Linked DNA regions of Homo sapiens: all the other regions are linked to region 1. Evidence: promoter capture Hi-C in human tissues and cell types (Jung and others, 2019). All regions are on one chromosome and are shown on one strand. Each heading gives the region's core, a stretch centred on a gene start or on the middle of the fragment in contact. The rest is flanking DNA. Distances are from core to core; before and after follow the strand shown. Region 1 holds the start of EMB (embigin). Region 2 has its middle 110 kb from the start of LINC02106. Region 3 overlaps PARP8 (poly(ADP-ribose) polymerase family member 8).

Region 1 (3,550 bases), core at 535-3,034:
TTTAATAAAGAAGGGACCTTGCTATGTTGCCCGGGGTGGTCTTGAACTCCTGGATTCCAGCCATCCTCCCACCTCAGCGCCCAAAAGTGCTGGGATTACAGGCCTGGACAATTCTTTATAAGTGGTATTATGGAAAAGAGATGTGGCACAAGGAAATCTGCGAAGGAACCCACGATGTTCTGTCCAAGTTGTTAACAACTAGACGTTTTAAAAGGCATTTATAAAAATTAATAGTCTTACCTTTTGATTATCCTTCCTTCTCTATGGTGTGTTACAAAAATTCCACATCTTACAAGCCCATGAAAATAAATTCCCATGAGAGTTTGAAAACTTTTTGCAGAATAATGTCCCAATTTTAGTTACTGGTGGCCAATATTTACCAGCTTGAGAGGTGGTCTTTTATTACCCTTACTGGCTGGTAACATTTATGACACAGAAACTTGCAATAGGTTGGATGGAATCCTTTCAATATGAAAAGTAATTATAAACAGGTGAAGGTAGAATGGCAACTTTCGTGTTGGCTTTGTTAATGTTTTGCACGTAATCCCTCTGTCAAAGTGTCTTAAACAATAAAACAACAAGCAAAAATCTCACACATACACACACACACATGCACACACACATTTTGTTTTCAAAGACCACGGTGTAAAATGAAGATACACACACGTTATCCTGTAAGTTGTGGATCTTTGGTTGGCTAGTTGGTTATGATGTTTTTTCCCCTACTCAGCTCTAAAAAAACATCCTCGGCAAGGTGAGGTGGCTCACGCCTGTAATCCCAGCACTTTGGGAGGCCGAAGCGGGCGGATCACCTCAGGTTGGGAGTTCGAGACCAGACTGACCAATGTGGAGAAGCCCAGTCTCTACTAAAAATATAAAATTAGCCCGGCGTGGTGGCGCATGCCTGTAATCCCAGCTACTCTGGAGGCTGACAGAGGAGAATCGCTTGAACCCGGGAGGAGGAGGTTGCGGTGAGCCGAGATCACGCCATTGCACTCCAGCCTGGGCAACAAGAGTAAAACTCCGTCTCAAAAAAAAAAAAAAAAAAAAAAAAAAAATCCTCAAAGCCAACCCACCTGCCAAGAGGAGGGAAGGAGGTGATACTCGAGCCTTACTCTCGAATCAAGAAAAGGGAGTAGGCCTTGGGGAAATGTGGCTTTCAAAATTCATGCCATATTTGCCCAAGCCAAGTCGCTAGCTGGTCCCTGCAACCACCCACACACCCCACTGCCTTCTTCCTAGGAAAAACCAGACTCTGCCCTGTTACCTACGCGCCCGACTCGCGGGGCGCTGTTCGTTCAAGACTCGCCCCAAAGAGCGCAGGAACGCGAGCCGCAGCAGTTTCAGGGTTCAGCTTAGGTGACACAAACGTAGCTAATGGGAGGCCGCCGCCGACTCTCCCACCCGCCCTTACCAGCATCCCCGCGCCTCTCCCCGCCACCCTTGCCCGGCGCGCCGGCGATGCCCTCTGCCCGCGGGGACCCGAGCCTCGCGCGCCCTCCGCCCTCCCTACCCTGGACCCTGTACCCATCACACCTGGGGCACTGCCGTCCGCCGAGCTTGGGCGCGCGGCAGCGAGAAGGCACTGGAGGAGGAGCAGCCGGGGCGTACGCGCCCTGGCCTCCAGCAGGCCGGGGAGGGCGCGCATGGCGCCAGAGGGTCCGCCTGGGTCCTCGTGGAGACTGCTCCCTCAGCTCGCCGCCGCGGGTGTCCAGAGTCCCTGCGCACACTCGCAGGTGGCCCGGCGCTCGCAGCCAGTGCCGCGGGTAGGACGCTGAAGAAAAGGCGGAATGGGAGGGGCCCGGCCGCCTTGCCCCACTCCCCCGAGACGCTCTTACCGCGCCCGGCCCTCCATCAGTTATGCAGCCCTCAGCCGGCTGCTGGCGTTCCCGGATGTGCGGTGGCGGTGCTACTTCCCGGCTGCAGCCTCTCCGGCCTCCGCCCTCTCGGCTCTAGCAGGTCGGGAGAGAGCTTGGGCAGGTGATGTCTAGCCAATCTCGTGGGGAGAGGTCGAAACTCTGCCTACAGACTGGCCTTTGCACTTCACCTGAGGCAGGTTTCACTAATTTGCTTTGATGGGACAGATGAGAAACACTTTTCTCCTCCCGGACCCCGGACATCTTTGGGCTTTCTTACGAGGGAGGCTTATTTTTGCGCAGGTGTAAGGTTTTATCCAGCTGCCAGACAACTTGTGTTAATCTTTCTTTGCTTTGCCTACCAATCACACACATTCTCTCTTCTAGTCTCTGAAGGCTTAACTGATTTTCTCCGGATGAAGGTTTTAGAGTCCCAAGGCCCCATACCGTGTCTGATTTTACTTTATTTTTGTTTGTTAAGCCTAACAGCTTCTGAGGAGCCACCTAGAGCTCAAGAAGCAAAAGCTACTGAGAGTAGATACTATGTAAACTGCACAAGACATTGACCTTTGTTAAATCCGAACACTCTTTAAGATAATGCTCTTACCCACAAGGCTGTAGCTTGGAATATTCAGTGCTCTGAACCAAATTAAATAAATTAGTGCTTTATCCGGGAGGGGAGGAGAAATCTATATTGTAACATTGAAACACATTGATTTGATTTCTCTCCAGGATGTTATAACGCATTAAAAGATATTTTTAAAATTTTTCACGAGCTTTGTTTCCTCTCCCTTTATTTTTTTGAAGTTCAGCTTTCACATTCGTAAATTCAAAATATATCGGCGTTAAAAAAAAAAGGATTGGAAATAACATGAGACAAATTTTGAAAATTGAGCTATTTAACAAAACCTGTGTTTATTCCAGGCAGGAATGGTTAATTTGTAATTGGTACGTATTACTAAAACACGTCTGTTTCTGGTTTAGTATTATATGCACAAAACTTTGGAAACAGAATGTAGATTCTTCAAATTGGCAGTGAGATAATATGAATAATACAATTCATTCAACAATATTATCTACCAGGTGCCAATCTACCATTGTGTTCAAAAGAGGCTAGATAGGCACACATGCACAAATGCACGCATGCACACATGTACACACACACACACACAAATTAGACAACTGTTTATCTGTGAATGACAAATCTCAGAAAAGCCTCTTCTCAGAAAATTATGGTCAAAATTATTAAAATCTTCTGAATGAAACTTTAAAAGATGCCTTCAAGGACTAAATCTTATACACTGTTGACCCTCTGAGGGCATTGACTGGGCTTGCTAAACCCAAATTGCCTAATCAATGGCTGCTACATCACACCTCTTTCTTTCAACCCTGCATCTGGTCTCAGGACTAACTGCACACATTTCCCTATAATTAGGTAGAGTGTCAACAGTAAGCACTTCTCACCTCAAACTAAACTCTGACTGACTTTTCCCAGTTAGTCTCATAAAATCCTTAGACACAAATTCACCCTTCTTAAAGAAACATTTTTTTCAGTTGAATCAGCCTATTTATGACCAGAAAAACTTACTTACCCAAGTTGATGCTGATCCCCACTGTTGCTTTTGCTGTTGGAACAAAAGAGTTGAGAAAGAAATATAATTCTCATTTTGCTAAGCATTTTGAAAGTCTTTTCA
Region 2 (3,550 bases), core at 590-3,089, 420 kb after region 1:
ACATGCCTTAGTTCATGTAATAGTTAAAATAATCTTTTAGGTTGATACCATTATTATCCCCTTTTTATGTATTAGAAGACCAATGCAAAAAGACAGCAATTTGCCCTAGGTTACATATTCAGTGAACAGTGGAATCAAAACCATCCAATTCAAGCTCACATTTTTAACTGCTCTGTGATTTTGTCTCCCTCACCCTCTGCTCAGCACAGTTCCAAGCACAGAATCCACATGCCAAAATGTTTACTGAACTGAATCATTTTGTATGCAGTGTTCATACAATCTCTCCATCCATATTTTTTGAATCAATTTTGGCATTTAGAATGGCTCAGAAAAAGACATTGGCCAGGGAGAAAATCTTTATAGGAATAAGAGGAACAGCTGCTAATCTAAATGCTACTCATAACACTCAGAGAGTTTGCCAACAAGTTCAACAGAATCTTGGAAATGTCTGCTCCAGAAAAGCTTGCGATCAATTCCAATGCCCATCTCATGCCCAGATTGCACAAGGGAAATCCAGTGATCCTCTCATAGAGTGTTGAATGCAACATCTGCAAGAAGGGCTGTTGGGACAGGCTCTGTCCTGCAAAATACAACAGAATGAAACCTGGAAATTGTCACAACAATTTACATCACCTGGAATACAGTGACACTGATAATCCTCAGGACTATGAAGCCTTGGAATGATATGAGATTTATGAGGCCTAAAGCAAAACACCAGAGAAAATTCAATATGTATAGAGAACTCAAATGCCCACACGAGGGAAGTGAAAGCTATGTTCTGCTTATTTGACATCATGTGATAAAACTGCCATTCAAAGTGTCTTCCTGTGAAGCAGTTTGTCAGAGTTGTGGAAGGAACCGTGAGATCAAAATGACTATTTATTTTGTACCTGTTTCCATTTATCTATTAAGGTAATCAAGATGTATATTGGCCACTTATAATGTGCAATTGCCACAAAAGGAGTTAGGAATACAGAGATGAAATAGAATGAAATGCTTAGACTGTTTTGTGAAGGCTGAGAAAATGTTTCTGATTTTTCACCACGGTTCCAAACCTGGGCATTTTTGCCTTAGAATCCATTTTGCACTCTTCCTCTGCTGTGCTCTGTACCACTGCGAGTTACAAACCTACAGATGACACTTCTCAGGCTCTTTTCATCGAGGGTTTCCAAATTAACTAATAACAATAGAAAGGACTGATTGATTGAAGAACAGGAGAAAGGAGCAGCCAGGGTATTTCTCCCTCAGTTTGTTCCTGTGATGGCCTCTCCAATAGAAGCTGTTTCTCCCACATGGTTTCAGGTAGCTTTCAAAGGCTAGTAGCTTTCATAGGCAGGTAGTCATGGTTCCAGTTTATGAAGGGTGACCACAGCTCCTGGCTCTTGCAGCATCACCTCTTTCAGCTTCCCCAGTCTTGGGATGCTGGTGATTTCCTATTATTAACTTCTGGCTGCTTCCATGGGCCCTGTTTGGATTCTAGTCTCCTCCATCACCTGAATTACCAATACTCCGCTTTAAACCCCCTCTGTTGTAAATATTCAAAATACTTTCTATTTTAGAACCTGATTAAGATAACTGCTGTATTTTCTGTGCCTAGAACAGAGTCTACCACATGTTTATTTGTGAGTCTACCACACACACACACATATATATATAATTATTTTTTTCTTTTTGAGACAGTCTCACTCTGTCACCCAGGCTGGAGTGCAGGGGTGTAATCTCGGCTCACTGCAACCTCTGCCTCCCAGGTTCAAGCAAGTCTCCTGCCTCAGTCTCTCGAGTAGCTGGGATTACAGGTGCAGCCACCATGCCTGGCTAATTTTTGTATTTTTATTAAAGATGGGGTTTCACCATGTTGGCCAGGCTGGTCTCAAACTCCTGACCTCAAGTGATCCATCTGCCTCTGCCTCCCAAAGTGCTAGGATTACAGGTGTGAGCCACCACACCCTGCCCTAACACATATTTAAATGAACAAATAGATAAATGGGGTGAAATAGTTGTACAGGTTGTTATAATACATACACATTATACATGATTAAATGGATATGCACTACAGGGACATAGAAGAAAAAAATTCTTGGTGTGTTTGAGAACTTAGGAAGATCTGAATTTTGAAGAAGAAATTTTCAGGTGAACAACAAGCAATGCTTTTCAAGTATTGGAAAACATGAGTCGAACAAAAAGACAAAAAAGAGAAAGGTATGAGAGCTCAGGACCCTACTTAGTATTTCCTCACAAGTAGGATATAAAATTACTGTCTGAGTATTATGGGAGTTAAATTAAAAGATGATCAGGTTTAGACTACAAAAGAATTCATGTCCAACCTAAGGAGTTTAGATTTATCATGAAGAACTACTGAAAAATTACTAGCAAGGAAATTACATAAGCACGCACAAAAAACCCTGATATCCATGATATGCCCATTCTAAAAGCAAACAAGCATTTTATAATCATTGAATGTCCACTATTTTATTTTGTGTCACAAAAAAACAACTTGGGGAAATATTTTATCTAGTTAAAATGATTTTCAATGGTAATGGATATTTCAGTTTGAAGATGCTTTTATAAATACTAATTAGTTAATACTCTCAGATTTTATAAGATTGTATTACAATAAACATCAACCACCTTTTGTTTTGTTTTTAACCACTGATTCATCATCTTATAATGTCAGAGTTGTGCTTCTTAAACAGGCTGCCAGATGGCTGCAATATGACAGTCACCTAAAACTCCACAAGAATGTCATCTACAGACTAAAATTATAGAGAAATTGGGAAAGCAGATGACAGGTTATTAGGAAGTCTTGTTTTTACAAATGTGTTAATCTGGAAGCTTTGCTAAGTTTACATTGTAGCCCCAATTACTGGAAGGAATACCTGACTTATTGCCTGTGCATATGGAGGAGTGGTAGCCAATAATGATAACTTGGATTTGTGAAGCACAGAGACTGTAGCATCACCTGCTTTGAAAGATTTTTAAAAATATTTTGTTGCCATTTGAATTTAGATATGATTGGCTTAAATGCCTAGGTCAATGCACTGTGGAAATCCAAAGCCTTACTCAAGATTTCTGTAGACTGTTCATGTAAAGAGATCTCCTTCACCTCCTGGACCCTGATGTATACAATTTCTGTGCTATTAAATCCTTTCAGCCACCTGTCCCTGGGGTTTCCTCACTGGCTCCTGATCAGCTATACATGCCACTATATTTCAGCTTCCTCACTAGAATACTTAATAAGGAATTTTAATGATACAATTTCCAGCTTCTTAAATGAATGTATCTTTATTCTAGCTTATCTACCATGTCCCATCTTAACTCAAATGAGGACAAAACTTCTCAAAGGAGTTAATTCAGCATATGGCATCAACGTAAGTCACTGTATCATTGGTGATATTACCATGGTTTAAATATCTTTAGGTCCTGGATCCCTTGAGAATCTAATGAAAGTATTTGACTGTCACCTCAAAGAAATCCACATGGGGAACAAATTGTGCATACAATATTGGGAAGTTATGGACCTTTCTAAAGTCCAACCATAAACCAACTTTGT
Region 3 (3,550 bases), core at 390-2,889, 290 kb after region 1:
TTTTCAAGCTTTACTTTTTTTCCCGCATTTTACAAATATGTTTTTATTGATAGGAGTACCTCAGATCTGATCACGAACTCTAAGAGGGGAAGCTGCTTTTTCTTGTTTAGCCACATGATTAGCATCACTAACCACTGTAAAGCATATTGTATATTGCCAATGATGTGTCAATTAAAAATCCACTGGGAACAAAGCCCCATTTAACAAAGTTGTCTTGAGCACAGCGATGATTGAGGAAATTCCTTTACCCCAGTGTGGGAAATCCCACAAGGGAGCTGTTTTGCCCACTGGTCTCATGTAGACTTGCTGGCTCCTGAATATTCTCTGAGAAGGGCAAAACCACTGGGAATTGTGCAGGCTGGTCATATGCAAGTACAAAGGAGACGGTCTAGGGCCTGTCAACTGTGGATCATCTCTGTCCTCATGCTACAGGCCATTCTGCTTGCTTCTAAAGCAAGACTGCTTTATTTGGTAGGTTGGGTGGAAATATTGTAGAGGAAATTTGTATTTTAGAATAACACATCTCTCTGTTTCCTATATTAATTCTTTTTGTGGAAATAACCCAAAGATTGTGTCGTTAGGAACTACTCTCTCATTTGAGGACTAGGCCATCTCATGCTATCTGGTAAAGATGACATTTACAGTCATAAATCAAAACCATCTGAAATTTTCCAGGGTCTTTCTGAAGGTTGTGAGAAAAACACAGGCAATTCCTTTGTATAGTAGTATTTTGTGAGGGACAGGGCATAGCTCTGATAATAGTTTTTGGTAATCATTTTATCTTTAGTTTTCTACCTATCAGTGGGCTGTAGTATTTTTATGACTTCCTTTACCCTTCTTTAGATGAACATTTGAGATACTTCCTTGTACTAAGAACTGCAGGCACATTTAGACACGTTGTGAGTCAGACCTGGCTTTTGCGTGCCAACTACTCCCTTCTGTTGTTGGAGTGTACCCAGTCCCCGCTCCTGCTCCCACTTCCCACCCGGACTTGGTGTTCTTTTGAAAAAATGGACATGGATCCACTCAAACTTTGTCCCTGTTTTCATATTTTTGTTCTTTGTTTAGGTAGTATGTCAACTGCTTTGATCCAGCTTTTGGCCAGAGTACGTGTGGACTATATTGTTCAAAAGTAAAATACTTCTGTTAATGTACATGGCTTGTAGGCTTGTTTTTAGTTAATTTTGACAGAATGTGTGAATGTCAGTTATGGTCTATACCTTCCACTGTGCCAGGGGCTACATAGAGAAATAAAATATAATAACCACTAAAGGGAAGTTTGGATTCTACATTTAATTTGGAACTATAAGGCTGAAAAAGTGAAAATTTTGAAGAATGAGGATGGTATATTCAAATTCCGCAATTATTTTCTTTTACTCATCCACGTATTTTTGTCCCATCATCGCATCCTGCAGGAAACTTTCCTGGTACCCTTTGTCAAGTTATGGGGCCCTTATGTGATGCCACAATACATGGTGTGGTCCGCCTTCAGAGTTGAAAATTACAACTATAATTTTCATTTATTTGGGTGATACTTTAATTGTGTTTTCCCTTGCTGGACTAGAAACTTCTGAATTCAAGGCCCCTGTCTATTTTTACTTTCCACCTGTGTTGGCACAGAGTGGGTCTTCAGTAATCATTTACTTCATAATTGGTTGAATGAATGTGTGAGTTCCAACTACTAATGATCAGTGAGAGTTAATTTTTGAATTCAAAATTCTTGCCAGTGCCGAGACCTTGGGAGTGCCAGCATTGATTGCTTCTGTGTCATTTTTCTAGGTAGAAGTAAATGATGGCTTAAGTATTTCCTATCAATTCTAATGAATATTTCTAAGGCATTTCCCTGTTCCCTTTATTAATTGACAACATCCAGTGCAGAAGCTTCATTGATATTGTAATTTTAGAGTTGGGTATAAGTGATGAATTGATGCTATTGCAATTAGACTGACTTGAATTTATCTGTGAATTAGCTCATAAAAATGATTCTGTTGATCTTAACATTTTGAGTTTTGAGAAGGTTTTAATAGCATTTTGATTTATCTTTTAAAATTGACATCATTTTCATTTTTTTGTCTCTATGACATTCAGAGTGCAACTTAATTTGCAGTTTATCAATCTGTCTATTGTTATGGTGGGCCCTTGTTTTCATAGGAATCACACGTTTAAATTAAGGTCCCATAGTTTCCTCAGTTCCTAAAGAACTACACAGAATTTTTTTTTTTTGGCACCCAAATAAGTCAGTTACTGCTCTCCCAGAATTCGTTGTCTTTCCTTTCCTTTTTTGAGACCACTATTAGAAATATGTCCCAAAGAGAAAACAAAACTAATATTTTAATATTTAAAGTATTTTAATATCAAGGAAGTTAGCTGTTTTTGAGTTGATAACTTCTCCATCAAAGTTTAAAATGTTGCATAATGTATAAAGTATAATTTTGATGTCACTCTTAAAATGAAATTGTATAATAAATATTTTAGACTAAGTTTTTCCATATTTTATATTGGAGATATATATGTACCTGAAAAATACTTAAAAATGTGATGAGACAAATCAAAGATGTTTGTTGATGTTGAAAAAGGCAACTTATTATCTAATTTTTATTGGAACTGACTGAGAGTTAAACATTTTTTCTCATAAATTTACTTAGATATGTGATAATTTTATGGTCCAGTCTTATGGAACACATTAGTGTGCGGTTGTTCAAAATTGCTCCTCTTCTAAAGTGAAAATCTCATTCACCTAACAAAATAAAACTAGATAAATTTTTGTTTTCCTACTGCTTTGGTGACTATGAACTAAGTAAAAATAGTTTTTAGTAGGGTCATCTCATTGTTATAGGAACTCTGGATAACTAATCAATTTGCAAAAGTAATGCCAAATGGAGTGAGATATGCCTCCTTTCACAGAATTTGCTTTGCTAAGGAAAGAGCATACAGGGGAAAAAACTTTTTTTTCACACTTGGCTATTTAATACATTGCATAATTGTTTTAAATTGATTTCTGATGAGTTGCTAAATATGCTGTACAAACTGAATTAAACAAGTGTTGAAATGATAAAATGTAATGAAAGGTATTTGGACCAAAGGAGAACTAAGTTCTGGACCAAGTGCTGTGTAACTAGGACAAATTGATAGACCTCTCTGAGCCTTAATATTCTTGCGTGTAAAATAAAAGGAACAGATAGATGGTCCATTTTGTAACTCTAGGTCTGTGAGTGTTCTGGGAATAAATTTTGTTTTTCTTGCCGTTCAGAAAGCTTACTCTTTCTGAGTTATTTCTTTTCAGTTAGGTGTGAATATCTCCTCAGGCATCTTCCATCCATCTCTTCAAGATTAGCTGTCTCAAATGTTTTTCCTTCTCTTCTTTACTGATAAATTTGGACTCCTTCTTGACACTGATGACAGCTTCAGTATCCTTCTTGTCACCTTGCAGACTTTAAACATAAAAATACTCATTGGTTTTAAAAGGAAAAAAGTATACATTAGGACTATTAAGCTTGGCCTTGAAACATTTTCTATCTTTTATTAAATGTCGGTTAGCTGAACAGAATTC

What was found. The method cuts DNA at HindIII sites, captures the fragments that hold promoters and counts their contacts. A contact is called where the count stands out against the background at its distance.
Region 2: a contact is called between a fragment that was not itself captured here and the fragment with the promoter of EMB in region 1, in 1 of the 25 tissues and cell types used here (dorsolateral prefrontal cortex).
Region 3: a contact is called between a fragment that was not itself captured here and the fragment with the promoter of EMB in region 1, in 1 of the 25 tissues and cell types used here (lymphoblastoid cells).

The regions. Positions count from the first base shown.
Region 1 is chr5:50,439,504-50,443,053 of GRCh38, forward strand. EMB (embigin) reads right to left here and starts at 1,785. Exons shown (of 9, transcript NM_198449.3): 1 at 1,537-1,785. The coding sequence starts at 1,648. RefSeq lists silencers at 1,329-1,518, 1,599-1,728. The HindIII fragment of the contact is 6,914 bases long and covers 762-3,550 here.
Region 2 is chr5:50,856,154-50,859,703 of GRCh38, forward strand. No RefSeq gene overlaps it. Among named protein-coding and RNA genes, the nearest start is that of LINC02106, 110 kb to the right of the region's middle. The HindIII fragment of the contact is 3,727 bases long and covers 1-3,550 here.
Region 3 is chr5:50,726,373-50,729,922 of GRCh38, forward strand. All of the region lies in intron 2 of PARP8 (poly(ADP-ribose) polymerase family member 8), which reads left to right. Among named protein-coding and RNA genes, the nearest start is that of PARP8, 62 kb to the left of the region's middle. The HindIII fragment of the contact is 3,467 bases long and covers 1-3,373 here.